Linked DNA regions of Homo sapiens: regions 2, 3, 4, 5 and 6 are each linked to region 1. The links are contacts of gene promoters, found by promoter capture Hi-C in blood cells and fetal thymus (Javierre and others, 2016). All regions are on one chromosome and are shown on one strand. The core of a region is centred on a gene start or on the middle of the fragment in contact, and the rest is flanking DNA. Distances in the headings are between cores, read along the strand shown. Region 1 holds the start of CBLB (Cbl proto-oncogene B). Region 2 overlaps LOC101929485 (a long non-coding RNA gene). Region 3 overlaps LOC101929485 (a long non-coding RNA gene). Region 4 overlaps LOC101929485 (a long non-coding RNA gene). Region 5 overlaps LOC101929485 (a long non-coding RNA gene). Region 6 has its middle 14 kb from the start of ALCAM.

The links. The method cuts DNA at HindIII sites, captures the fragments that hold promoters and counts their contacts. A CHiCAGO score of 5 or more calls a contact.
Region 2: a contact is called between a fragment that was not itself captured here and the fragment with the promoter of CBLB in region 1, in 9 of 17 cell types (activated CD4 T cells, naive CD8 T cells, naive B cells and 6 more). The highest score is 9.6, in activated CD4 T cells.
Region 3: a contact is called between a fragment that was not itself captured here and the fragment with the promoter of CBLB in region 1, in 1 of 17 cell types (total CD8 T cells). The highest score is 5.3, in total CD8 T cells.
Region 4: a fragment that was not itself captured here is called in contact with the fragment with the promoter of CBLB in region 1 in 1 of 17 cell types (naive CD8 T cells); the score reaches 5.7 in naive CD8 T cells.
Region 5: a fragment that was not itself captured here is called in contact with the fragment with the promoter of CBLB in region 1 in 1 of 17 cell types (naive CD8 T cells); the score reaches 5.2 in naive CD8 T cells.
Region 6: a fragment that was not itself captured here is called in contact with the fragment with the promoter of CBLB in region 1 in 1 of 17 cell types (neutrophils); the score reaches 7.7 in neutrophils.

The regions. Positions count from the first base shown.
Region 1 is chr3:105,867,153-105,871,341 of GRCh38, reverse strand. It overlaps CBLB (Cbl proto-oncogene B), which reads left to right and starts at 2,330. Exons shown (of 19, transcript NM_170662.5): 1 at 2,330-2,606; 2 at 3,751-3,932. The coding sequence starts at 3,765. RefSeq lists a silencer at 2,132-2,361 and an enhancer at 4,119-4,189. The HindIII fragment of the contact is 9,979 bases long and covers 1-3,015 here.
Region 2 is chr3:106,612,387-106,616,575 of GRCh38, reverse strand. The region is part of intron 2 of LOC101929485 (a long non-coding RNA gene); the gene reads left to right. Among named protein-coding and RNA genes, the nearest start is that of LINC00882, 630 kb to the left of the region's middle. The HindIII fragment of the contact is 2,946 bases long and covers 1,039-3,984 here.
Region 3 is chr3:106,588,098-106,592,286 of GRCh38, reverse strand. All of the region lies in intron 2 of LOC101929485 (a long non-coding RNA gene), which reads left to right. Among named protein-coding and RNA genes, the nearest start is that of LINC00882, 650 kb to the left of the region's middle. The HindIII fragment of the contact is 4,088 bases long and covers 1-3,965 here.
Region 4 is chr3:106,567,725-106,571,913 of GRCh38, reverse strand. The region is part of intron 2 of LOC101929485 (a long non-coding RNA gene); the gene reads left to right. Among named protein-coding and RNA genes, the nearest start is that of LINC00882, 670 kb to the left of the region's middle. The HindIII fragment of the contact is 3,173 bases long and covers 839-4,011 here.
Region 5 is chr3:106,404,986-106,409,174 of GRCh38, reverse strand. It overlaps LOC101929485 (a long non-coding RNA gene), which reads left to right. Exons shown (of 16, transcript XR_007095992.1): 12 at 2,796-2,876. Among named protein-coding and RNA genes, the nearest start is that of CBLB, 540 kb to the right of the region's middle. The HindIII fragment of the contact is 2,045 bases long and covers 668-2,712 here.
Region 6 is chr3:105,350,875-105,355,063 of GRCh38, reverse strand. No RefSeq gene overlaps it. Among named protein-coding and RNA genes, the nearest start is that of ALCAM, 14 kb to the left of the region's middle. RefSeq lists enhancers at 1,100-1,249, 1,290-1,379, 968-1,786. The HindIII fragment of the contact is 5,591 bases long and covers 1-4,189 here.

The sequences.
Region 1 (4,189 bases), core at 1,081-3,580:
ACACACACATGCGTACATATGTACATACAGCAGTTCCCTTCATCCACAGGATATGCTCAAACCCACAGTGCATGCTTGAAATCTCAGAAAATACTGAACGCTATATATACTATGAGTATTCCAATACATACATACCTATGATAAGTTTATGAAGTAGTCACAGTAAGAGATTAATAACAATAACTATTAATAAAATAATAACAATATGCTGTAATACAAGTTATATAAATGTGGTATTTTTCTCTCTCTCAAAATATCTTTTTGTACTATACTCACCTATTTTCAAACCCTGGTTGTCCACAGGTAACTAGAACCAAGGAAAGTGAGATGGCAAATAAGTGGTAAGGGATGCTACCGTATCTCACATACATATATTTCAAAATACGTCAAACCATACACCTCAAAACTTGTAATTTATATCAACATGATATGCTTGATACCATAGGCAATGCCATTTTCTCATTAACTCATCTCTTTCAGTTGCAAAACACCATATAAAAGGAATGGCACATGCTATAACATGTATTTTGGGTATTTTACATTTATCCAGATATGAATATAAGTAATATACTTAGTTATAATGTTCCCTTAAGCCACTGTTTTGCTACATGCTTCTACACATTAATTCTTTTAAAATTTATTTTAAAGGTAACACAGTTTTTTTCTTTTACAGTCTCCCCTTAGTAAATGTAGCTACTACGACTATGAGTAAAAGAGATATGGATGGGTGGAGGAGATATGGAGAGGCCAGCACTTTTGTAGATAAATGCAATGTGAAAACAAGGAACTACTCTTTAATTACTGGCACAGAAATAATGACAAGGAAACAAAATTACTTCCTGAATCACACTTTATCACCTGACTGGTTGCAAAGGCACATTTTTTTTCTGTTTTCGTCAAATTAAAATCTTAACCATGTAAATTCAAGGCTGTAAAGGAAAACTCAGGATCCTTCATAGTAATAATTACAGTATTAAAATTCTTAGTTGCTAGAAAGTGGTTAGAACCATTGAGAAACATTTTATCAGGTTACGTGGTTAGAGCAAGATTTGAAAAAACAAAATCAAAAACAAAAAACCCAATGTAAAATATCAGAACATCTGAGATGTCCAAGCTGAAAAGTGTAATAAACGCTATCAACTGTAGTGGAAAGAAAGTTCCAAAGTATGAAGTCCAGAGCAATTGTTGGTAGCATGAGTGGTGGGATTGAAGTAAACTGAAATAAATGGAAGGCATTTGTTTAACCTATGATATTGCTGAAAGACAAGTCCCAGCACAGTAGCTTTCTCCTTTAAAGACTAGCCAGATGTCGGCCTTTTTAAGAGCACAAAGAAGGGAGCCACAGAAAGAGGTAACAATGCTGGTAGAGAATGGCAGCTACAGTAAGGTTGTTTTTAAATGGATAGAAATCTATGTAAAGGTGACTCCGACAAAACACAGTAGCTGTCTCCTCCTCAGTCATTTAGGCAGAAACTTGCACTAAGTAAAAAGGTGCAAGGTATTTATCAGCAATTCCCATTATCTGGTACTTTTATTGCTTTGGCATGATTAGCAGAGACTGTTTGGCCAGCGTTGTCAACTATTTGCTTTTTCATCAGCCTGATGTTTGGTCTGCAATCCCTCTAAAACTAACAGCAAAAGAGAAACTCGGAAACTTGGGAAGTTTCAGTTGGCATTCAGATGTCACCCCAGCCTACTCTCTGTGAGATTTATTCTGCATTTTAGAAGCTCAGTGGCTGTTGCTCTTTTTGATAGCCAACAAGAAGCAACGTCATAGACCTGTTTGGCTGCTGTCCTGGGTAGAAGGGTTTGGCAGCCCTAGGGAGATGAATTTCTCCAGCGTTGGACCCGCCCAGAGCGGAGAAGCAACACCCTTCCAGCCACTACTCTGTTGCTATGAAACAAAAGACTAGGAAGGTAAGCGAAGCAGGAAGTCCCGCCTTTCAGCCCCAGATGGCTTTGGCTCCCGGTCCCGACGCTCACGCCCACCTGCCACCCCTTATTGGTTAGCTCCTTCGTGCCTTGCATCCCTTCGTCCATTTCCTTTCCCGTTTCCACTTTCGTTCCCGGGAGAGTCCAGGCCCCTCATTTCTCTCCGAGTCCAATTCCTTTCTGACGTGCTGCGAGCGGGCCTTCCTCTGGGGCCATTGTGTACTGTGGAGGACGTGGACGGGGCGGCAGCGCGAGGAGGACGGGCGCCTCCCGTCCATTGGCTGCACCCGCTGTCGGGCAGTGCGCGGTTGCGCGGCATTGGCTCAGCGGCGCCCGGCCCCGCCCCCGCCCCGCCCCGCCCCGAGCCTGGGTCCTGTGTGTGCCACAGGGGTGGGGTGTCCAGCGAGCGGTCTCCTCCTCCTGCTAGTGCTGCTGCGGCGTCCCGCGGCCTCCCCGAGTCGGGCGGGAGGGGAGAGCGGGTGTGGATTTGTCTTGACGGTAATTGTTGCGTTTCCACGTCTCGGAGGCCTGCGCGCTGGGTTGCTCCTTCTTCGGGAGCGAGCTGTTCTCAGCGATCCCACTCCCAGCCGGGGCTCCCCACACACACTGGGCTGCGTGCGTGTGGAGTGGGACCCGCGCACACGCGTGTCTCTGGACAGCTACGGCGCCGAAAGGCAAGAAGGGAAGGGGTCGCCGGGGAGGCTCCACACTTCTTGCCGGCCCGGGGGCCCGGGGTAGCCAGGCGCGGGCCAAGGAGGAAGAGGGGACAGCCCTGGCTCTCAGCTGCCTTTGCCGCCGCCGTCCAGTTTGAAGTGGGGCATTTAAAGACCAGAACCCGCAGGCCGGGGAGGAGGGAGAGGGCGTCCAGGCAGACGGCGGTGAGGACTGCAGCAGGCGGCCGGGAGGCGCGTCCACCCAGGCGCCGAGCCCACAGTGTCCCTCCCGCGCCCTAGACGGACGGTGCTGCGGGCACGGGAGGGACACTTTGTCCCCTCCCAGTCCACCTTCCTCCTGCAGCTCAGACCCGAGGGGCCGGGAAGGGGCCTGAGCAGGGAAGGGACACAGGCGTCCTGAAACAAAGCTTTGGGTTGAGGGCAGAGGCGAGGAGCCAGAGAAGTGAACTCCTCCTTTCCGTGGCCGCTCTTGTCATTTTTCTCTTTTCTCTTTTCAAATGGGCTATTTGTGTGTTAATTTCATTTGGTTCTTGGGAATAACGACTCACCGCGTTGATTTAAAGAAAGGTGTTCGTGTGTCCGTACTTGGTGGTTTTAGTGTGGGACATGCCCTGCGCTTTTGTTGACAACAGAGCTGTCCCTTACGTTTGTGTAGGATAATCTTTATGTTTATGTAACTTGGAGAAATCTAACAGAGTGAAAGTGAAGTTTCTGCGTAAGGCTCCCAAAATGTATGATAGGACCTTCAGTTGTTCTGGTATTTTGAATTGGAATTAAGGCAGGAGGGGAAGAACATTCTGTTTTTATCTAGGTGGGGGAAACCTGTTTAAGTTTTGTTTGTTCTTTTTTTTTTTTTTATGAGTTGAGTATTAGTTCAGCCTTAGCTACTTGAAACGTGAGCAGGATGCATCTTTAACTCTTAGTATTGTAAAAGCAAATCTAGGATCACTGCTCTTAAAACTACTGTGTGTAAAGATTGAGAGTGTAAATTCACAAGCTTATTGATAAAGATGAATCCGGAACTTTTGGTTTTGCTCTAATCGATGGAGGAAGATGCAGTGGTACAAGTTAGTCTCTAGTTTTCTGGTGGGTAAATATTTTCAAAACCAACTAACTTTTCTTTTTTTAAATCTGCCTTTTAAAGAACTAAAATTCCAGATGGCAAACTCAATGAATGGCAGAAACCCTGGTGGTCGAGGAGGAAATCCCCGAAAAGGTCGAATTTTGGGTATTATTGATGCTATTCAGGATGCAGTTGGACCCCCTAAGCAAGCTGCCGCAGATCGCAGGACCGTGGAGAAGACTTGGAAGCTCATGGACAAAGTGGTAAGTTCTGTCTGACGTTGCCTGTGCGAAACACTATTCACTTTGTCTGTGGTTTCTCCAGATTTATTTATACTGTTAATTAATACCAACCATTGTTATGGCAACAATCTTTTGATTTCAATTCATCATTTTTCTTCAACTCTGTGTTTTTTGAAAAGTTGGATTCAAAGACTTTTTTGTTTTTTAACCTTTCATCCTTTCTACTCTTTAAGGTTCAGAGTTCCTCTACATGACTCAGTATGTAAAGTTTTACCATT
Region 2 (4,189 bases), core at 1,262-3,761, 750 kb before region 1:
AGCTTATTTTTTCTGATCTTATTCCAAAGACAAACACAGAGCTACAAGGAATTCAGTGAATCTCAAGACCACCAGGAAAACAATGAGTTACCTCTAGGGAGGTTTTAGTTCTTGTTTACTGAGAATATGCACTTTGTGGTTTAAAAAGCAACGACAAAGAGATGTTATGTCATTAATAGTTACTCTTAATCATAATAAGACTGTAAATTAAAATATGACAGGGTAGACTGAGGACATTATGTACTTGTACAGTAGAAATTCCTAATTTATATCACCTGAATGACTGTATTTAGGATTTGGAATAATAGGGGTAACTTCAATGAGTTTGATATATGAATGAGTTGTTCTTGCATTTTTCTTTAGCTGTATGTTGAAATTCCTCACATTACAAGTGTGCAGGACTCCCAGAAAAAGAATGCTGTACAAAACATGGGCCGTGTTAGTGGCCCTGTGGTACTAATGCAAATAAGTGATTAAAAGCAATTGAACACATACTCATCTTCCATCCAGCACTGCACACATATGCACACTTTTGAGAATTCTTATCTGACTATCAAAACATTAGCCCTTATTGTTGAGAATACATCCACTTATGAACAGTGATAATAAAGTTTCTGGTTCTGATCCCTGATAATAAATTCCTACAGTTGCCATTAGGGGTAGGGGCCCTGTCTCTATCATCTCAGGTGAGAGTGAAATACTTTTCTGGGAAATAATAGAAAACAAGGAGCCTCATAGGTTACAAATAACAGCTGTAACCTTGGAAATTGTATCAAGTTATAAAAGTAGGGAACTGAGTGATAGGAATTGTTCAATGATAAGTAATAAGAAAATCACATTCTAGAAGAGTTTTAGAAAAGAGCACAACTCTCAGGCTATGTCATACACAATCCAAGGAAGATGCAATCAGCTTTGGCAAAGGGAGTACTGAAAAACCATGACAGATTGATCATAATGCTCTTGAAGACCTATTAACTCGATTTTTCTTCAAGTCAATATTAACAACAGATTATGTATATTGATTGTTTTAAGAAAGCTTTTCTTTCCAGTATGATCTATCAGGAATGCCTGTCAGTTACATTTCTTGGTAAAAATTAATAGATTTGCTTGGCTTTTATTGAACTCAGGTAGTATTGTAGCCATCAGGGACATAAACACTAAAAATATAGGAATACAAGCATAGAAATGTGAAATGGTAGTATATGGTCATGACTATTCTATAAGAATAATTCTTCCACTTATGGAGCTTATATTTTTATAAAAATTAAATGATTAGATATCAATAATCGCCCTAATGGAGTTTCCATTAGGGTGATTATTGATAGATAGATAGATTGATATTTAAGAAGACCTTTATAAATATTTATAAATATATGTATACTTATATATGACTATATTTGGGATTTGAAATTAGGGGCAACTACATATTAGTTCTTCTACATACAGTTCTTGTTAAATATATATAAAGTATCATCACCAAGGTGTTATTATAGACAGGCTAGAAGTATGTGGGGCTTTCTAAGAAGACTTTTTTTTTTGAGATGGAGTCTCGCTCTGTCTCCCAGGCTGGAGTGCAGTGGCGCAATCTTGGCTCACTGCAATCTCCACCTCCCGGGTTCATGCCATTCTCCTGCCTCAGCCTCCTGAGTAGTTGGGACTACAGGCACCCACCACCACGCCTGGCTAATTTTTTTGTATTTTTAGTAGAGACAGGGTTTCACCATGTTAGCCAGGATGGTCTCTATCTCCTGACCTCGTGATCCACCTGTCTTGGTCTTTCAAAGTGCTGGGATTACAGGCATGAACCACCGCACCCAGCCTAAGAAGCCTTTTTAAAAGATGTAAAATTTGAGATGGCTATGAGAGGGTGGGATGTTCAGTTAGAGAAGATAACAGAAGGAGAAATGTGAGAAGCATGAAGATATGAAATAAAGTGTACTGGACTGTAAGTAATACAATATGGCTGGGTATAAGGTATGGAGTTGTTGAGTAAAGATAAAAGGCTTTTCTATATTCTATTTGAATAGGAATGAGGGCCAGGCCCAGTGGCTCATGCCTGTAATCCCAGCATTTTGGGAGGCTGAGGCGGGAAGATCATTTGAGGTCAGGAGTTCAAGACCAGCCTGACCAACATGGTGAAACCCTGTCTTTACTAAAAATACAAAAAATTAGCCAGGCGTGGTGGGGCATGCTTGTAGTCCCAGCTACTTGGGAGGCTGAGGCAGGAGAATCACTTGAATCCAGGAGGCGGAGGTTGCAGTGAGCCAAGATCACACCACCGCATTCCAGCCTGGGTGACAGAACGAGACTGTCTCAAAAAAACAAAACAAAACAAAAAAAAAAAGGAAATGAGATCATAAACTAAGTCAACTAATGAATGGAAACTAGAAACTGAAATGAGATTTCAATGAACAACTCTTGGTGATAGGGTTTGGCCATGTGTCTCCACCCAAGTCTTATGTTGAATTGTAATCCCCAATGTTGGGAGAGGGACCTGTGGGGAGGTGATTGGATCATGGGAGCAGATTTCCGCCTTGCTTTTTTTGTGATAGTGAGTGAGATCTAGCAGTTTAAAAGTGTGTAGCACTTCCGTCTTCACTCTCCTGCTGGCCATGTGAAGATGTACTTGCTTCCCTTTCTGCCTTCCACCATGGTTGTAAGTTTCCTGAGGCCTCCCCAGCCATGCTTCCTGTACAGTTTGCAGATCTCTGAGCCAAATTAACCTCTTTTCTTTATAAATTACCCAGTCTCAGGTAGTTCTTTATAGCAATGTGAGAGTGGACTAATATACTTGGTCACCAAGTAAATATGAAAAGTGAGAAAAATGGTAGTTTTTTGGGTTATTTACTAAATATTTCCCATTTTCCTTCCAGGCAGATAGTTTTTTCCTTTTGGGTTATTTACTAAATATTTCCCATTTTCCTTCCAGACAGTTTTTGCACTGTCTCATCCTCCTGAAGTGAGGTGTGACACTTTGACTTTCTTCGGTTAATAAATATGAGTGGAAGTGACATATGCTTCTAGGTGTCCTTTTGTTAAGCAATTTGATATGGTCTCTTTCCTGTGGCTCTGGTAATCATGTGAATGTGTATTGAGATAGATAGTTGATTCCCAAACAACTATGATGAGCAGAGATCTCTGAAAAACCCACGTTGACCACATTGTATGACGAAGAAATCAAGTTTTGGTGTGTTAAGCCATTGATATCTGGCAATTGTTATTTGTCAAGGAACAAGTTACTCTGACCAATAAACATGCTGTCCAAAATTTCAAAATACAAAATTAATTTACCAATACCTGTTTGGCCTGGGTAAACTCACAAATTTTTATTTAAACCCCAATCTCATGCTTAGATTTAGAATTTGAACATATCATGACATCAACATATCAATTCTTGCAGGTTAGCTGTTTTTTAGGGTTTTATTAGATTATCTTCTTAGAAGATGAAAGCCATTTTTTCAGTTATAAAGCAAGATATATCAGTGACAGTCACTGGCAAGAGAATATTTGAATAACATGGTAATAATTAGTATATCAGACAGATCTTTAAGGGCCAATGGGATCATATCTGAAAATCACATCTTATTGGAGTCTGCAACACCAAACAAAGGAGATACATTTCTAGGAAAGGACAGGAAAATGCTCTATTCTGATTGGAAAATGATAGTCATTGAGGTATACACAGTCAGCAGAGAGTTGCATCTATGGAATGAAATTATATTTGTGTCTGGAGGGCAGGGGACAGTGAAAATAATGATAGCTTTTGAGGAGCATGTTTTGTAGTTAACTTGTTCCTACATGAATTGTCCCTTATTCATCTTGTTCCCTTCTTGTCCAGAGTTTTGTGGACCTCGTGGCGAATCTTTGAGAGCAGGGACTTTGTCTAGGGTTGGCAGACTGTAAACTCAGGCTTTTCAGAAAGTGGCTTCCCTAAGAGCAGTCTCCTCCCTGAACTCCAGGAAATCCCATAAGCTGGGGAAAGCTTCTGCAGGGTACCAATGGCCACATTTATCAGGACCAATTTTTGTTTATTAGTGTTACTATCACATTGAGTCTTCCTTGTTTGATTGCAGGCACACCCCCATTCTACACCCCCATTCTTTTAGAATATTATTGTTGAATTTTTTTAAATTAATTTGGAAAGAATAAGAGAAATTAATGGGAAAGAAAAGACAGTTTAGTTACTAGT
Region 3 (4,189 bases), core at 672-3,171, 720 kb before region 1:
GCCTCAGAACTCCATCCTTGGACAGCTTATCTTATCTATCCACACTTAATGTTTTATTATTATCTCATTCTCATCTAGTGTCTTGGCTTTAAATACTGTTTATAGGTGAATGACGCCCAGATTTCTATCTCTAGCTAGACCTTTTCCCTGAACAGTAGATTTGAATGTTCAATTGGTGAACCGCTATCTCCAACTAGATGTCTAATAGTCATTTCAAACTTACCATGTCTAAAAGTGAGCTTCCAACCTTCCTTGTGCCACCGTACACATAGCATTGATGCAGGACAGGCAAGCCCCAAAATTGGAGCTTAGCTCAGGAGGGTTCTTGACTTTGCCCAGGAAAGAATTCAAGGGTGAGCTGGTGGTGTTAAACAGCAACTTTTATTGAAGTGGCGTGTACAGCAGCAGCAGAGGAATGCCTCCTTGTGGAGTTGGGCTATCCCATAGGCAGTGTGCCCAAAATAGCAGCTCAGAGGCAATTCTGCCATCATATTTATACCCATTTTTAATTATATGCAAATTAAGGGATGGTTTGTGCAGAAATTTTTAAGAAAAAGGTAATAACTTCTATGTAATTAGGTTGTTGCCATGGAAAGAGGCAGTAACTTGTGGGTGTTGTCATGGCAATGGTAAACTGACATGGCACACTGGTGGGTGTGTCTTATAGAAAGCTCCTTCTGCCCTGGCCCTATTTTAGCTAGTCCTCAATTTGGTTTGGTGCCCAAGCCCCACCTCCAGAGTTGAGTCCCACCTTCTACCTCACCATCTACCAAAGATGCTTCTTTGGTGATCTTTAACCTCTCAGTAAATGGGAGTACCATTCTCCCAATTGCTTTGGTTCAAATTTCTGGAATCATTTTTTATTCCTTAAGATTTTCAAACAGACGGGCAAACAATCTGCAGATTAGTGATTCCATAATGGAAACTCTGGCCCTGTGCATTTCATAACAAGTATTTTTCTATGGTAATTGGCTCAAAAAGCCAGTGTGAGTCCACATATTAATCCACAACTGAGGGGTAACTGTTGATAATGCAACCTCTGCAGTATCATTAGACTTGGGGTAAAACACAGGAGGCTGAGGCAGAGAATTTCTCGAACCCAGGAGGCAGAGGTTGCAGTGAGCTGAGATCTCACCAGTGCACTCCAGCCCAGGTGACAGAGCAAGACTCTGTCTCAAAACAAAGAAAGAAAGAAAAGCATGCCATGCAGGTTACTATCTATCTATTTAATCTACTTCTGAGACTGGCCCTATTTGAATCCTCCAAATGAAATGATGTTGACACCATACTCATACAGCCATACGTCTTGATTAACTTTACTAAAGCAAAGTATTTGTGTTTCATTGTAGGAAAATGATCTCACAAATAAATTCTGGCAGTCTATATACCTTAAAAACATAAAGCCTACTGAAATAGATTAGACACAAAATTATGTAATGTAGAAGAGGACTGAGAATTTATTGTGTACCTATTATGTTTCAGATGCTATAATTAGCACTTCCTAGTTTATAGTCTCATTTAAAAACTCCCGGAAATTATCTAACAGATAAGAAAGCTGATTTTAGCAAGTCAAATCACTTACATAAGTAATTTGGCATAAGGCCTACCCCAAAAATACTCAAATAAATTCTATTATTAATATGTATTTTCCCAGACTCACACTACCAGTGTGAGATGAAGCCTTACATCCAATATAGTCTTGTTAGATTGCAAAACCTCTTATTCCAATAGTCTATGATGCAATTGCTTCTTGAAATATGCACCTTATTAGCAATTATTTCCTTTCCTTTCAGTATTCTACTCACCAAGTAGACTCTCAATGACTACATAGTGAAGTCAAAGTAAAATATCTGCACGATAGCTCTTCAGTGTTAGTGTGACAAGGCCTGCAAACACTGCCAGTTTGAATGAAAATGTGCTGAGATCAGTAGTTTCTCTGGTAGTAATAGGATTCAATGTTCTTTAAGGGGATTTACTTGTTCTTCCTGCACTTTTAGTTATCTGAGACTCCTTGTAAATTCCAAGTGAGTACATAACACTTAAAAGTGGCATTTAACCCACTCAATTATTTCTACAATTTAGCCAAAACCTTAGAAAATAGTTGGTATTTTATGTGAGGTAGTTTGGGATCATTATTTGCTGTGTTGAAGTGATCTTGATGGAAATGCCCAAGGACCCTGCTTCATTAACTTTCTAGGGCTAATAATACAACATTCGTTCTTCAGAGAAAAATTAAATAAATAATGATAAACCCATCCTGGCTTTTCTGTTTGTCAACTCTCCAGGACACTGAATTGTACTGTCATCTATGAGGACTATTGCATGTGAAAGCCTATGGTACAAGGGTTTAAAAGGGGAGAGAGTGGGATCTTTGCTGTCAAAGAGATTGCAATTTATTGAGAAAGCGATTTAATTCAGTTACTACACAAATGCCACAGACATAGTCATCACTAATGTCATAATTCAGTCTTTGGAAATTTTGGACTTTTGAAGATTGTGGTATCCCAGTGCATTATATTGGAGGGAGGTACCAGATGCTATAGTTTCCCTGGGAAGAGGTGCACCTATACACTTGGAAAAGGCAGTCATGAATGAAAGGGAAACAAAGAATCTGGATGAGTCTGAAATATAACTTTTCTAAAAGATTTATCAGTTCTGTGTGCTTAGGTTTGGCAGACAGTCAAATGAAATGTGTTTCTCCCTTTCTATGTTTTACTTGCCTTTAGTTACCACTAACTTTGCTGAAACCTGCACAGTCTTAAGGGGAATTATGTTGAGAACAAAGGGGTGAGGCAATACGGCAAATGTGGTTTGGCTCACATTCATTCGCATTTGCAGAGCAAGCAGCAGCCTATCTCTGGGATGATCAAGAAGTAGTAGTTCTTGATATTTCAGAGCCAAAAGACAATCACTTTCAGAACTAAAGTGGAGGCGCACCTAGTAGCTGGGGACAAAGAGGCAACGTATTACCTAGAGGTTACAGGACACCCTAGCCACACAGAAATATCCAGCACCACCACCCTCTCTCTTTCCAACATATGTTTGAATGGCATTTCTCAAAATATGATCCCCAGAATTCTCATGTCATGATAACCTGAGGATTTTTATTTTTAATGAAGAGTACTGAACTGTAGCTTTGTCAAAGTCCTAATCTCTAGATTTGTCAAATCAGAATCTCTGGTAATGGGTATAGGAATATACACTCAAAATGAACCCTCAAATTGATTTTTATACCCACTAAAGTTTGAGAAATACCAAGTTAGGGGATAGTAGCCCTTGAAATGGAGAGAAGGGATTTCCCTTGGCAGTGTTGTTTTCATGTGTGCAGGTAGGATGATTGACAGGCCCTTCCTGGGTCAGGTTTTCACATGATCAACACAGTGATGTTTGCTTCCAGCTGCATTTTTTTTTTAATGGTCATCATGTCCCTCTGCTCCCCAGATTTAAATGTAATCACAGCAGGATGTCTTAATTTTAGTGCTCCAGTTCAATCGGTATACATTTCTGTTTTTCAGAAGCACATATGTAATTTTTTTTTTGACAGAGTTTCACTCTTGTTGCCCAGGCTGGAGGGCTATGGTGCAATCTCGGCTCACTGCAATCTCTGCCTCCCGGGTTCAAGCGATTCTCCTGCCTCAGCCTCCCAAGTAGCTGGGATTACAGGCATGCGCCACCACACTTGGCTAATTTTTTGTATTTAGTAGAGATGGGGTTTCACCATGTTGGTCAGGCTGGTCTTGAACTCCTGACCTCAGGCGATCCACATGCCTCAGCCTCCCAAAGTGTTGGGATTACAGGCGTGAGCCACCGCACCTGGCCATATATAATTTTTAAAACATAAATGCTTCGTAGTGTGTCTTAGTCACATCTTTTGCTCATGCTTACTACAATTTAATTAAATTTTTTTGCATATTCAAAAATATAAGTGCATGAGAGTTGGCTGTCTTTGAGTCTTCTAATAAGCTTGACTGAGTTGTTTGGTAACGAGCATTGCTCCAGGAATAGTTAACTGGTTATAGTCTGGGACTTTATTGATCCTATCCTGACATGATATCAAATGAGACTTAAAAGTAGTTCTGCTTAAGGAGCTAGAAGTGATGTCTGTGATGGCACTGAGTCAAATGACACTCTGTCATAACAACTTTATCTTCCGTTTTGGACTTCACAGGTACAAAACATTTTAGAAATT
Region 4 (4,189 bases), core at 1,176-3,675, 700 kb before region 1:
CTTTCTCCCTCCCTTCCCTTTTCCCTCCAGCCTTTATTGAGCATCTGCTGTTCTGGACACTGCACCAGCCTCTGAGAGTACTATATAGAACAAGGTGCAGATCCTGCCTTCAGCAGCTGCCAGGCTAAGAGTAAATGGTGAGAAGTAAGCACATAATAGGAAACTAAGAAAAGAATTTGTAACAGAAACACAAAGAGAACATTTTCCATGAGAAAGTAGATAACTCTGGAAGAAGCAGCAAGATTTTCTAAATAAGTTTCTATTAGAGACAGCTTTTGATAGATGGCTAGAAATTACTATTTGGAAAGTAAGGGGATAACATTTTGGATAACAGGAGAAGTGTTTGTAAACAAATATCAGCTGTAGTAAGAAGAGGAAAACATGTGGCCCGTGTGATCAGAGGTAGAGTGTACTAGATCAGGGTAGGAGGCGAAGCAGGAAAATTAAAATGAGGACATGTACTTAACCTTGTTATCCACAATAGCTGCACCCTCTCCAATATGTCAATTGCAAATAGCCCATTTTCTGAACACCACTGTCAGTCCTGAGATAGACCTGCATGGTCTCCTGGTTTTCTATATATTTCACTGGTTTGTCCTCCTTAGTCTCTTAGACATGTAAATGTTGAGATTCCCGAAGCTTAGTCCATCAACCCTCCTCCCCTGCCATTTTCTGTTCTCTATTGAGAGAAGCTCCTTTATGAAGTACCTAAGAGCAATCACACAAGAGCCAAACCTTAGTTTAGTTTCCAACCTTTTGCCTTATAAAATGAGTGTGCATCTCCCATGGTTTACTTGTTGGTAAAATAAAGATAGTGATAAGACCTATCAGAAAAGCTTGTTGGAGTCTTAAGTAGTCTAAGATATGTGTCCCAAAGAGACTCAAAAGAGAAGGCCTAACTGCTTATCCTTAAATAGACCTGCTCACAAGTTTGGCCCTGAGTTGGCATCTGGGAACTTGGATTTGGGGAGTATTTCCACACAACTAACTGATTAGAGTAGCTCACCATAACTATTTATGAAAACAATATGGTTTGTGTTGACCACCTCTTTTACTTCTGAAATTCTGGAATATTTGTGCGTACCAGACAGAGGCTGCCTGTGTGATTAGCCTCCAATAAAAACCCAGGGATCTGAGTCTCTAACTAGCTTACCTGGTTGGCAACACTTCCTGTGTTATCCCATCTAATTGCTGGGGGTTTAAGCATATTCTACATCACTCCACTGGGAAAGGATGCTGTGTCTGGTTTCCCTCAGAAAATGCCCCATGTGCCATTTCCCTTTGTTGATTTTGCTTTCCATACTTTTCCTGTAATGAATCATAGCCATGAAAGTGATTACGTACTGAGTTATTTCAGCCCTAGCAAATCATCAAACCCAGAGGTGGTCTTGGGACCTCCAAACATAACATGGAAAAAGCCTTTAGGTGAGTGTTAGGCATATCATAACCACAAAATAAAATTTGCTATTTTTATTATAGACCCTCTTTTTTTAAGATGAGGCTCTTCTGGCTTTAAGTATTACCTGCATTCTGATGATTATCAGATATGTTTCAGCAGTTGAACCCTTTTTTAGAACTACAAATTCATATGTCAAATTCCACATATAGGATCTGCATGTGAGTTTCTAATGGGCATCTCAAACTGAAGATGCACAAAAGAGAACTCTGGATTTCTGCTTCAAGGAAAAATCTCCACCACTGTCTGTCACAGAGCTGTTGAAATCACTACCATCACCCTGCTGTGTGGAGTCTCCAGTGTTTCCCCACTTTTGTTCACACTTCGTGTATAATCCATGAATAAACCTTATTTATCTCCAAAGATATGTCACAAACATTAAACACTGTTCATCGAATCACTATTACCTCTCTCCAACCTGTGGTAGGAGCACCCTATCTTCTTGCCTTTATTTTTACCTCCACCAGTCTATCTTTTACAGACTAGCCAGTATTGTCTCTTTAAATTAAAAGCAGAACATCTCTTCATTACTTTAATCCCCTTGGTGTTTCTCCATTTTAATTTAAATATGATCCAAACTTTATCCCATAACCTATAAGGACTATATGATTGACCCTTGCTCACCTCCCTGTGCATCTTTTGGCTTGCTAAAGTGTCCTTTCTCTTCCCCCAACATGACAAGCTGGCTTCCACTTAGCTCAAGACTGGGAGCGCTCTCTGCCTGGATCACATTGACTCCAGGTTTCTCATGGCTGCCCACTCTCATAAGTCAGGTCACTTTCAGACCACCTGACTTAAAGTAACCACTGCCCTCTTACTTTATAGCCAATGTTTTATTTCAATCAACTATCACGAACAAATTTTTGCTTTATTTATTTTCTATTTTTTATATTTTTTTCAAAGTTATTAAAATCAGTCTCCGACCTGCTTCCTCTTTCTTAGCGCTATTGTTCAGAAGCAATTATTTTGATTGAACAATTTTGGCTCTTCATTTTTTATTAGAATTAGCTTTTTAACTCTAAATAGTATAGATGTTTCTTCATTTATCAAATTTAGTCATATATGTTTACTTCTCACTTTGAAAGATAGAGCTATGGTTCCTCGCATCACTCTTAATTTACCCTCATCCTTTCCTCCCAAAGCTGATTATTGTGTAATATTACTCCTTCTACTGTTTAAAAATTGAACAATATATAACTTTTTCAATGCCTTTTCCCATCAACTTGACATAATATCTCTAGAGTTCTCTGATGTAAAAGGAAGATATTGATGTCTCTTTCCTTCTCTCCACGAACCACATCTAAATTTCTGTCATATGAAAACCCATTCTTTTAATTGGGTTATTTTTTACTGTTGAATTTTAGAATTTTAGAAATCATTTGTATATTTTAGATAAAAATCCTTTACCGATATGTATATTGCAAATATTTTTCTCTCAGTCTGTGGCTTCTCTTTTTATTCTCTTTCTCAGAACAAAAATTATTGATTCTTATGAAATCTAGCTTATCAATTTTTTCTTTCATGGATCATGCCTTCGGTGTATCTAAAAAGTCATCACCAAAAACTGAGTTACCTAGATTTTATCCTGTTATCTTTTAGAAGTTTTATAGTTTTGTATTTTACATTTAGGTCTGTGATTCATTTTGGTTTACACTTTTTTGGATGTTGTAAAGTCTGTATTTAGATTGATTTGTTTTCTTTTTGCATGTAGATGTCCAGTTATTACAGGATCATTTGTTGAAAAGATGATTTTTTCTACATTATATTGACTTTACTTTTTTGTAAAAGATCAGCTGGCTATATTTATGTGGGTCTATTGCTGGGCTCCCTAGTCTGTTTTATTGGTATATATACACCTTTTGTCAATATCGCAGTGTTCAATTTTCACAACTGATATGATTGATGTGTCATAACATCATATTGTACCCCATAAATATATACAACTATTATTTGTCAATTAAAAGTAAAATAAAATTTTAAAAGGTGCTTGGTAGAGTTTACCAGTGAACCCATCTGGGCCTGGTGATATGTATTTTGGAAGGTTATTAATCATTGATTTAATTTCTTTAATATATGTACCCATTCAGATTGCTTATTTCTTCTTATGTGAATCTTGGCAGATAGTGTCTTTCTAGGTATTGGTCAGTTTCATCAAGGCTATAAAATTCTTGGGCATAGAGTACTTTATATTGTACCTCGATTATCCTTTTCATGTCTATGGGATGTGTATTGATGTACCTCTTTTCATTTGTTTGTTTTTTTGTTTTACCATATTGCCTGGGCTGGCCTTGAACTCCTGGGCTCAAGTGATCCTCCTGCCTCCACCTCCCTAAGTGTTGGAATGACAGGCATAAGCCACTGTGCCTGGCCTCATTTCTGAGACCTATTGATTTGTTAATATTTTCAAAAAATCAGCTCTTGGTTTCATTAATTTTCTCTCTTGATTTCTTGCTTATAATTTCATTAATTTCTGTTCTAGTTTTTATAATTTATTTCCTTCTGCTTATGTTGCATTTAATTTGCACCCCTTTTTCTAGTTTCCTAAGGTGGAAGCTTAGATGACTGATTTCAGATCTTTCTTTTTTTCTAATATATACATTTAATAGTATAAATTTCCCTCTAAGCACTGCTCTCATTGTATCCCACAAATTTTTATGTTTGTTTTCATTTTTATTTAGTTAAAATATTTGTGAAATTCTTTTATAATTTCTTCTTTGAACGATGTGTTATTTA
Region 5 (4,189 bases), core at 441-2,940, 540 kb before region 1:
AAGAACAGCATGGGGGAAAATGCCCCCATGATTCAATTATCTTCTCCTGGTCCCACCCTTGACACATGGGGATTATTACAATTCAAGATGAGATTTAGGTGGGGACACAGAGCCAAGCCATATCACCATAGGAATAACAATGTTGACTTCCTGTTACACATTCCTTAGACTTCTGTGGACAATGTCGTCTTGAGTTGACCCATGGATAGCATAAAACAGTTAAGCAGCAAACCTCACCTGAGTATGATCAAAGAGATTGATTAAAGCTATCAGAGAGATGAATTGTGCATGGAAATGGGGGATTTTTGTTTCACTACTTTAGGTGTAAGTTGCCCTAAACTCCAGAGTAGTCTATAAAACTCTTCTACTGTGTCGGGAAAAGATAAAATAAGAAAGAGAAATTGGGGCAGTACAATGAAACAGGAAAGGAAAAATTCTAGAAAATCTCTGTCCACTATCTTAGGCACTTTGGAAAGTATATTTTGTAGAACAAATATTTTCATGTTTCAGCATTACACAAATCTCTAGAGAAATAGCAAATTAGTAAAGATAATAAATTGAGTTTTAGCGGTAGAGTTGATGACAACTCTGAACTTAAAGTCTGACTTTTGAACAGTTGCAAAAAGCATTATTGAAAAAATATTTTTCATACATTTGTATAAAAGCTTAGAAGCACAAATTTGCCTGTTCCACAGTGTACTCCAACATAACACATGGGATAGCAAACCAAGTCTTGCCATGATAACAGTGAAAAAGTCTCAGCAAAGCAGTGCAGTTATAGCTCCTTCAGCTTTAACCAGTTATGTATGTTAATACTTCCTTCTGTAAAACTAAAATCAGTACCACACACTATGAGACATTTATAGGACAAGCAAGGTATAATAAATGCATAATATTATAGACAAAGTAAACATGAGAGAAAGTCAGGGAGGAACAAGTAGGTGTGACCTGAGGCTTTTGTGGAAAACATATGAGTGAGTGTTATTTGAAAAGGACCTGTGGGTTGGACAACGTTAATAACTAGGAAGAGTTTAAGAGGACTTTTCAAAACTGAAACAGCAAAAATTAAATTGTACCAATGAGCACATTGCTTAGAGTGGATGGTGAGAAAACAGACCTTGGGCAAACAAAAGATACATGATGACAGATAAGGGGGAAAAGTGGGTAGAAGGTAAGTCAAATAATTTTGCATATTATAAAAAGTATCAGTATTGGGAGTAATGGGGTCAGAGTATATTCTTAGACCTGATTCTAACCTCTGGTTGATTTGAGACAAATCTCTTGTCTGCATCTCATTTCCTTTCTCTGTAAAATGAGGTTATACATGGCTATTCTCTTTTAAAATGTGCTTTAAATAAAAAATAACTAAAATGTATTAAATGCTTACTCTGTGAGCAGAGCCCTGCTTTGTAAGCATCCATTTGATACTTGCAACTTTATGAGATAGACTATGTCATTATTCCCATTTTAGAGATACAAAATTGATGATCAAAAACATTATTCAAACATTTTATAACTAGCTGACTGGGAAAAATGTGATGACAGGAGAACATTTTAAGGTAAATGAGTCAGGCAACCATGAATAGGAAATAGTGCCTAGTGAGGGGGATTTCAAGTGGAAGCAAATCACTTAAGAACACAGTCTGAAAATCAACATATCTATTGATGAGGGTGCCCCCAGTTTTTCTCTGTATAGTGGGAACATAAAAGAATGAAGCAGCCTAAGAGACATTTCAATGAGTTTTATTAAAAATGGTTGTATAGGAATATTTAAAATAAGAATTTGATTTTGGAGACCAGTAAGGCACAGTTGAATTTTATAGTTAACTCCAACATTTACTATCTGGATCCTGAACAAGATGCCTTGAACCTTAGTTCACCTATAAAATAAGAGTCATGATACCTACAATGCCGGGTAGTTTGAAGAGTGAAATTAAAGACTATACAGAATGCCAGTATTGTCTCTGGCATATCTTAATTGATAGCTGTTACCATCATGCTGATGGTGGGTTTGGAATTTTCATCAAAGCACCTTATAAGCTGAGGTAAGAATGATATCCTTTATTAGGTATAGTATTAAAAATAAATCTTAACTGAGCACATACTATAAGGAGTCCATTACTATTAGAAAATGCAAAGTAGTATGTGATGCCGACCCCTTATATTAATATTTTACAGTCCACCAGGAACACTAAGAAAAGTGTATAAAGAGAAAACAAAAATTCAAATCAGCATATGATAAATGCAATAAGAGAAGTATGGGTACATTGAGAGCAGAGAAATGAAAGACCTAATTTTTGGTTACGAGCTGAGGAGCATAAAAGCCATGATCTGGCTTTTGGAAAATGGGTAAAATTTCAAAATACAAAGATGAGATCTTACCAGGCATAGGGACTGGAGGGAACAAGGGAACATTAATGAGGTAATGACAATACTCTGGTTGAAGTGGAAAGTACATACAGCAAGAATAATAAAAGTAAAGTTATACATAGTTAGCCAATGGTTTTGAATGATAGGCCAGCATTCTTATCCTTCAAGAAGCAGGGAAAGAGGCACCTTTAAGAAACAAAACAAAACAGAATGACATAAAAAGTTGGTGACATAGGAAGATTAATATAGAGTAAAAATAAATTGGAAGTATGGCAGTGGGGCAGGCTAGTGCAATAACTGATGAAGTCAAGATAAAAAATATAACTTCTTTAGCCATAAGCTTTCATACAAAGATCCTTTATTGGGGAAAATTTATCCCTCATAATGTGTTCCCTTTAAATACTGATCTGTTTTTCTCCTTTAAGACCCAGAGTGCAGGAGGGATAACTGATATCAAAATTCCAAGGAAAGGATGAAAAAAGTAGGAAGAAAACCCCAAGAGTCAGGTGGGAAGATAGGTGCATATTGATTTGTGTTAATAGTATTTAAGAATTGTTTTTGGGCCGGGTGCAGTGGCTCACGCCTGTAATCCCAACACTTTGGGAGGCCGAGGCAGGCGGATCACCAGAGGTCACGAAGTTTGAAACCAGCCTGGCCAACATGGTGAAACCCCATCTCTACTAAAAATAAGTACAAAATTAGCTGGGCATGGTGGTGGGCACCTGTAATCCCAGCTACTCAGGAGGCTGAGGCAGGAGAATTGCCTGAACCCCGGAGGAGGAGGTTGTGGTGAGCCAAGATTGTGCCACTGCACTCCAGCCTGGGCAACAAGAGCGAGACTCCGTCTAAAAAAAAAAAAAAAAAAAAAAAAGAAAGAAAAAAAGGAATTGTTTTTGGAAGCTATTAAGCCCGGGAATGTCCTGTATTGGTCTGAAACCACATTATCATAATTAGAGGAGAGAAAGAAGGAAAATAGGGGCATTATAACATAGCTGTTCTCAGAAATCCTGGGCTCAAGTTACATCTTACATTAGTTCTATAATACCAGGCACGCTGCATAACCTCTGTATGCCTCAATGTTCTTATCTATAAAATGGTTACTTCATAAGGATATTGTGGCAACCAAATGACAACATGCATGAATCAACTAAAAAAAAATCTACCACACAGTAAATAGTGAATGATACCTAGCTTCTGTTGTCCTCTGTATCAATTATTTTTAGGTAGAATCCTTTGCAATATTTCAAATATGTGTTAATGAACACTTAGACCAGAATACTTAGCAGTGGAACTAAGAAAGTAGAGAAATAAAAGCATATTTTTGTAAAAAAAACAAAAAAATGATGGGGAGATTAACAAGATATTGTGGAATAAATGAAATAAAAAATAATAGCCTTTGATCTCATAGAAGTAAGAAGACCATAATGCTGGTTTTGAAATCTACCAATCCTAAAATCATATATTAATATAATAAAAACCTGTGATTGAGATAAGTATTTGGGACTTGAGCCAAAGATAGGGAGTCACCGTAAAAAGTCATTGTGGGATGCAAAAGGGCCAGTTTATTGTGGAAAAACAAATAGAGATAACTCCAGAGGGTAGAAGAGATACTTGAGCAACACACAGTGTAGAGAATATACTAAGAAAAAGAAAAAGAAGATGGAGCCAGAATATGCAATAGAAACCAAAAATATGTTGTTTCAAAAATCAAGTAGAAAAATAAGATCTCCACGTTGAGGGGTTTAACACTGTTCGTTGCTCCAAGTTCAGCAAAAATGGGAATTGAAGTAAAAACAAATAATGTGAATTGGAAATTACA
Region 6 (4,189 bases), core at 1,249-3,748, 520 kb after region 1:
GTTTGCTGAATGAATGCTTGTGTGATACAACTTTACAACACAGCCAAAATGTCAAATTCCAGCTCTTTTCTCATATCTGATTCAAGGAAGTTGAATTAACTTTTTGGATGCCAGAAACTCAAGTTCTAACAAAGAGGAGAAATTAGATGAGGAAAAAAGAAGAGGGGGGAGAGAAAATGGCAACAGCTGGGTTGGAGGTGCAGAATATAAGTATATAAGTCAAACTAACCTCCTTCACAGCTTTGCCTCAGCATTTTACATGGTTTTACTGCTGGGGACTGAAATAGGCTTTAAAGAAAAGAGTGAAGATGTGCGGATTCCAAATCTAGAGAGCAGCTCCACCATAGGGACCAACCCAGGGTCTAAAGACAGTCAAAGCCAAATTCCTTTGATGTTCTCTGAGAGCCTGCAGGCAAAATAGCAACTCAGCAAGGGTTTGGAATGCAAGTGGCATGGAATGAAAATGTGTGTTCCTGTTACAGGGCCAAGGAAGGGAAGGACAAACCTCACCTATTAAAGAAATCCCTGGACTGGAAAGGACTGGAACATTGGGAGTGGAAGTCCACATTAGCGGAATAGTATGTTCTGAAGGCATTTGAGCAGATGAAAACCTGATACACGAGACATAAAACCTGAGGAAAATTATTTCATGGGAACGGTAAAAATGGTGGAGAGGGTAAATTGGGCAAGGGAGAAGAACGGAGGAGAGGGAGAGGGAAGTGCTGCTGAACTTATTTCAAAGAAGAAGAAGAAAAAAAATGATCTCTTGTTTTTCATTAAATAATGGATGCTCTCCAGGCCAGCCAGAGTCGCGGCTGATTCTGTTTTGCGCTCAGTGGAGGAAAAATCAAACCAAACCAAAACATAAAACAAAACGGGAAAAGATGAGCGTTTCCTTTTCCTCCTCCCTTCCTCCAACCGAGTTCTTCCTTCAGCCCCAGGGCCCGCGAGGGGGAGGTCTTTTTCCTTTGCTGCCCGAGGTTTGCGTCCTTCCGGGGCCCAGCAGCCCGAGATGCGTTTGGTCCCGAAACCCGACAGGCGGGGAAGCGGGCTCAGTCTCTCCCTCCTGGTTTTCTCTCTCCTCTTCTCTCCGCTGCTCTTCTCAGTGGGCACTTGCTCTGTCGTGCGTCTCCGCACCCGGCGGTTCGGAGCAAGGGCCATTGATACTTCTGGGGGATTGGGAGGGTCCCAAATGGTACACCAATCCTTCCTCTACAAGGAACCGTGTCTTTATGAGCGGAGAGTGATTTCGATGGCCGAGGACCCTTGTCCTGCATCCCGCGGAGCTGACCCAGGACCGCTGGGTGGGCGGCGCTCTAGCTCTGGATGCGCTGTCTCGGAGCTTTCCCGGAGGAGGCTGAGGCGACACCGGCCCCCGGGTAAACTATGGCTCCTGCCTTGTGTAGAGGAGATCTTGGTGAGGTTGTGGTTCCCGCAGATCGTCCTGGGATTCTGTTCCTCCAAGTGAAAGGCCAAAGCCCTGCCTTGTTAATAAATCATAAGCCGCTGACTCATTTCAGGGAAGTGGACAGACTGACTTAGGTAGATGAGTGTCACAAATATGTTAAACAAAATTAGCAAATACAGGCCGGTCTCTTGCCATTATCACTGGCAAGATGAAGTCCAAGGTTTTCCCATATATTTTTCTGGGGATATTCCTGGTACCTTCCACCCCAATAAACGTATATTATAAATGGCACTGTATTCTTGATAGTGTTGTTTAGAAACGATGATTGCACTTAAATCAATAATATGAACCTACCAAAATTAAATACAACTGTTTCTAGTTAAAAAGAAATCCACAGCAATCAAGAATGCATAAGTTCGCAAATTCTGATAATAGAATTGCTCCTCTAGAAACTGTGGACAGGGTTGTGAAATGCATGACTACAGCTGAGTGGATTGCACAGCGAAAGGCCTGTTCAAGTCTGAGGGCTTCTGGGGGATTGTTTTGTATGTAGGTGAGAACGCTGATCTCTGCACAATTGATACATAGAAAGTTATTGAATTGATGTGGGAAACAAAATCATAAGAAATCCTTTGGCAATATCTGAAAGGTAGCATTTAATTCTCTGTCATTCAAGAAAAAGGAGCAGTTCAGCTTTCAAAATGTATCCACATTATACAGTCAGCCAAAAAAGTATAATCCCCATTCAAGCTATTAGAGTACAACATAGGGTGACAGTGGGATTTTTAGCTTGGTTAAAGCAAATAAAATACTGTAGAAGGAATGAAATCAAACTTGTTGAAACTTGGATTTGCAGAAATATAAGGCAGCTTGGAGAAGATGAATACAGGTGGAAAATGACCTTTTGATTATGTTCAGGAAGGCATTAGAATGTCAGGAGAAATGCTGGAAAGGAGATTTATTGCCGTAAGCACAGTTGACAAGTTCCATTTTGTCGAGTCTCTTGGATGGAGGAAGGAAACCAGCATTTCAGGAGGTGATTAAAAGAGCCCTGCAAAGTCTTCAGTAATCCAGGGAGACCCAAATACAGAAGAATTCTGTTGCCCCTAGTCTGTTTAGAGACTCGAAGAACCCTACTATTGGGTTTCCACCACAGATATGCTTATTCCTTGTCAGAATGTTTGTACTAGATACATTGTATGACTTATAAGATGGACTGGACCAACATATGTGTGTATCTTTCTTTCTTTCAATAGAAAATTTCTTCCCTCTCTTCTTCCTTCTTTCTTTTTGTCTGTATTTGTATTTTTACATATGTGTGTATATATATATATATATACACACACATCTGTGACTATATATGTATATATATATAAATATATGTGTGTGTATACACACACACACACATGCACACACACACACACACACACACACATATATATTCAGAGACCCAGAGAAGAAGAGGGGATCGAAAATATAAATTATTTTTTGTGATAAGATGAAGCTACATGTATATACTCTTTTACATTTTGAAGACTGCATTCATATTCAATGACTCATTAGAGACACACATCCACATTTTTGTGGCCAACAGGTCTAATATTAGAATTCCCATTTTAAAGATGAGGAAATGAGGATAAAATAAGAGAAGTGATGTGTCTAATGCCCTTTTCATTTTGCTACAAGACCTTTCACAATACTTGTGATTCATAAGCATGAACTAAATCCACATGAGCCTCAACACATCCCCCTTTCATGACCATTTTCCTTCTCTTCTTTTTAATTTGCATATTTGGTTAAAATCCTATACGATTTCAATAATTCTCCATATATACCAACTTTCTTTGCTTTATTTTTCTCATTAGCCCTTATGACTATTTAGCATACCTTAAATTTTACATGTTCATCTTTTTTGTGTGTTGCCTTTCTGCCACAGAAAATACACTCAAAAAATATAGGAAATTATTTTTAGGGGTAATTATTTTTAGGAGTAGGGGAATACTATTTTCTGCTGTGTCTCCAGTGTCTAGAAAAATGCTTCACAAATAGTAAACACTCCATAAATATTTGTTAAATCAAGCCGTTCATGAATGACTCCTTACAAATTGTCCATTTGGATCTAATTACCATCTTTCTGCGAATGCTTTCTGTAAGGAAAGAGTGGTATTAATTACTTGCAAGAAAAATAATGAAAGTAAGCTCATTGCAAGACTCTTGATACTTGATGGGGGAAATGAAATTCTTTCTTTGTTTTCCTTAGTTCTTTCTGACTATTAACAAAATGCAGTGTTTGGAACCTCATATGACATGGCCAAATGATGCCTCTGCTAAGGCAAGAAAAATTTTTATGAGTCTCATGTCTTTACTGCCTTCTACTCCTCATCACCTTGCTCTCACGTGTATATAAACTTCAGGCAATATCCCTTGTCTACGATCAGCCAGGAATGTATTTTCCCTGGACCAGTGCCTTGCACATACAATCTTTCCAGACTTTTCCCTTCCTTATTAAGTTTTACCTGTCCCTTTTCCCATTTCTTCCACTGTCTACTTTCGTTACTGTTTTAGCTTCCAAGATAATATATTTCAATTTTGTTGGAATCAAGTAGCCTCAGAATTGGATGGACACACAGTACGGCTTCTCTCCCAGTACAGCAAATCTTTTTTACAGGATTGACAAGTGAGAAGCAGTGTGGGTGAGAACTCTCTCTCTGAACACAAGATAGATGTGCTTTCTGCCTTTTACAAAGGCAATTATTTAACCTTTTAAACTTCAAACTCTTT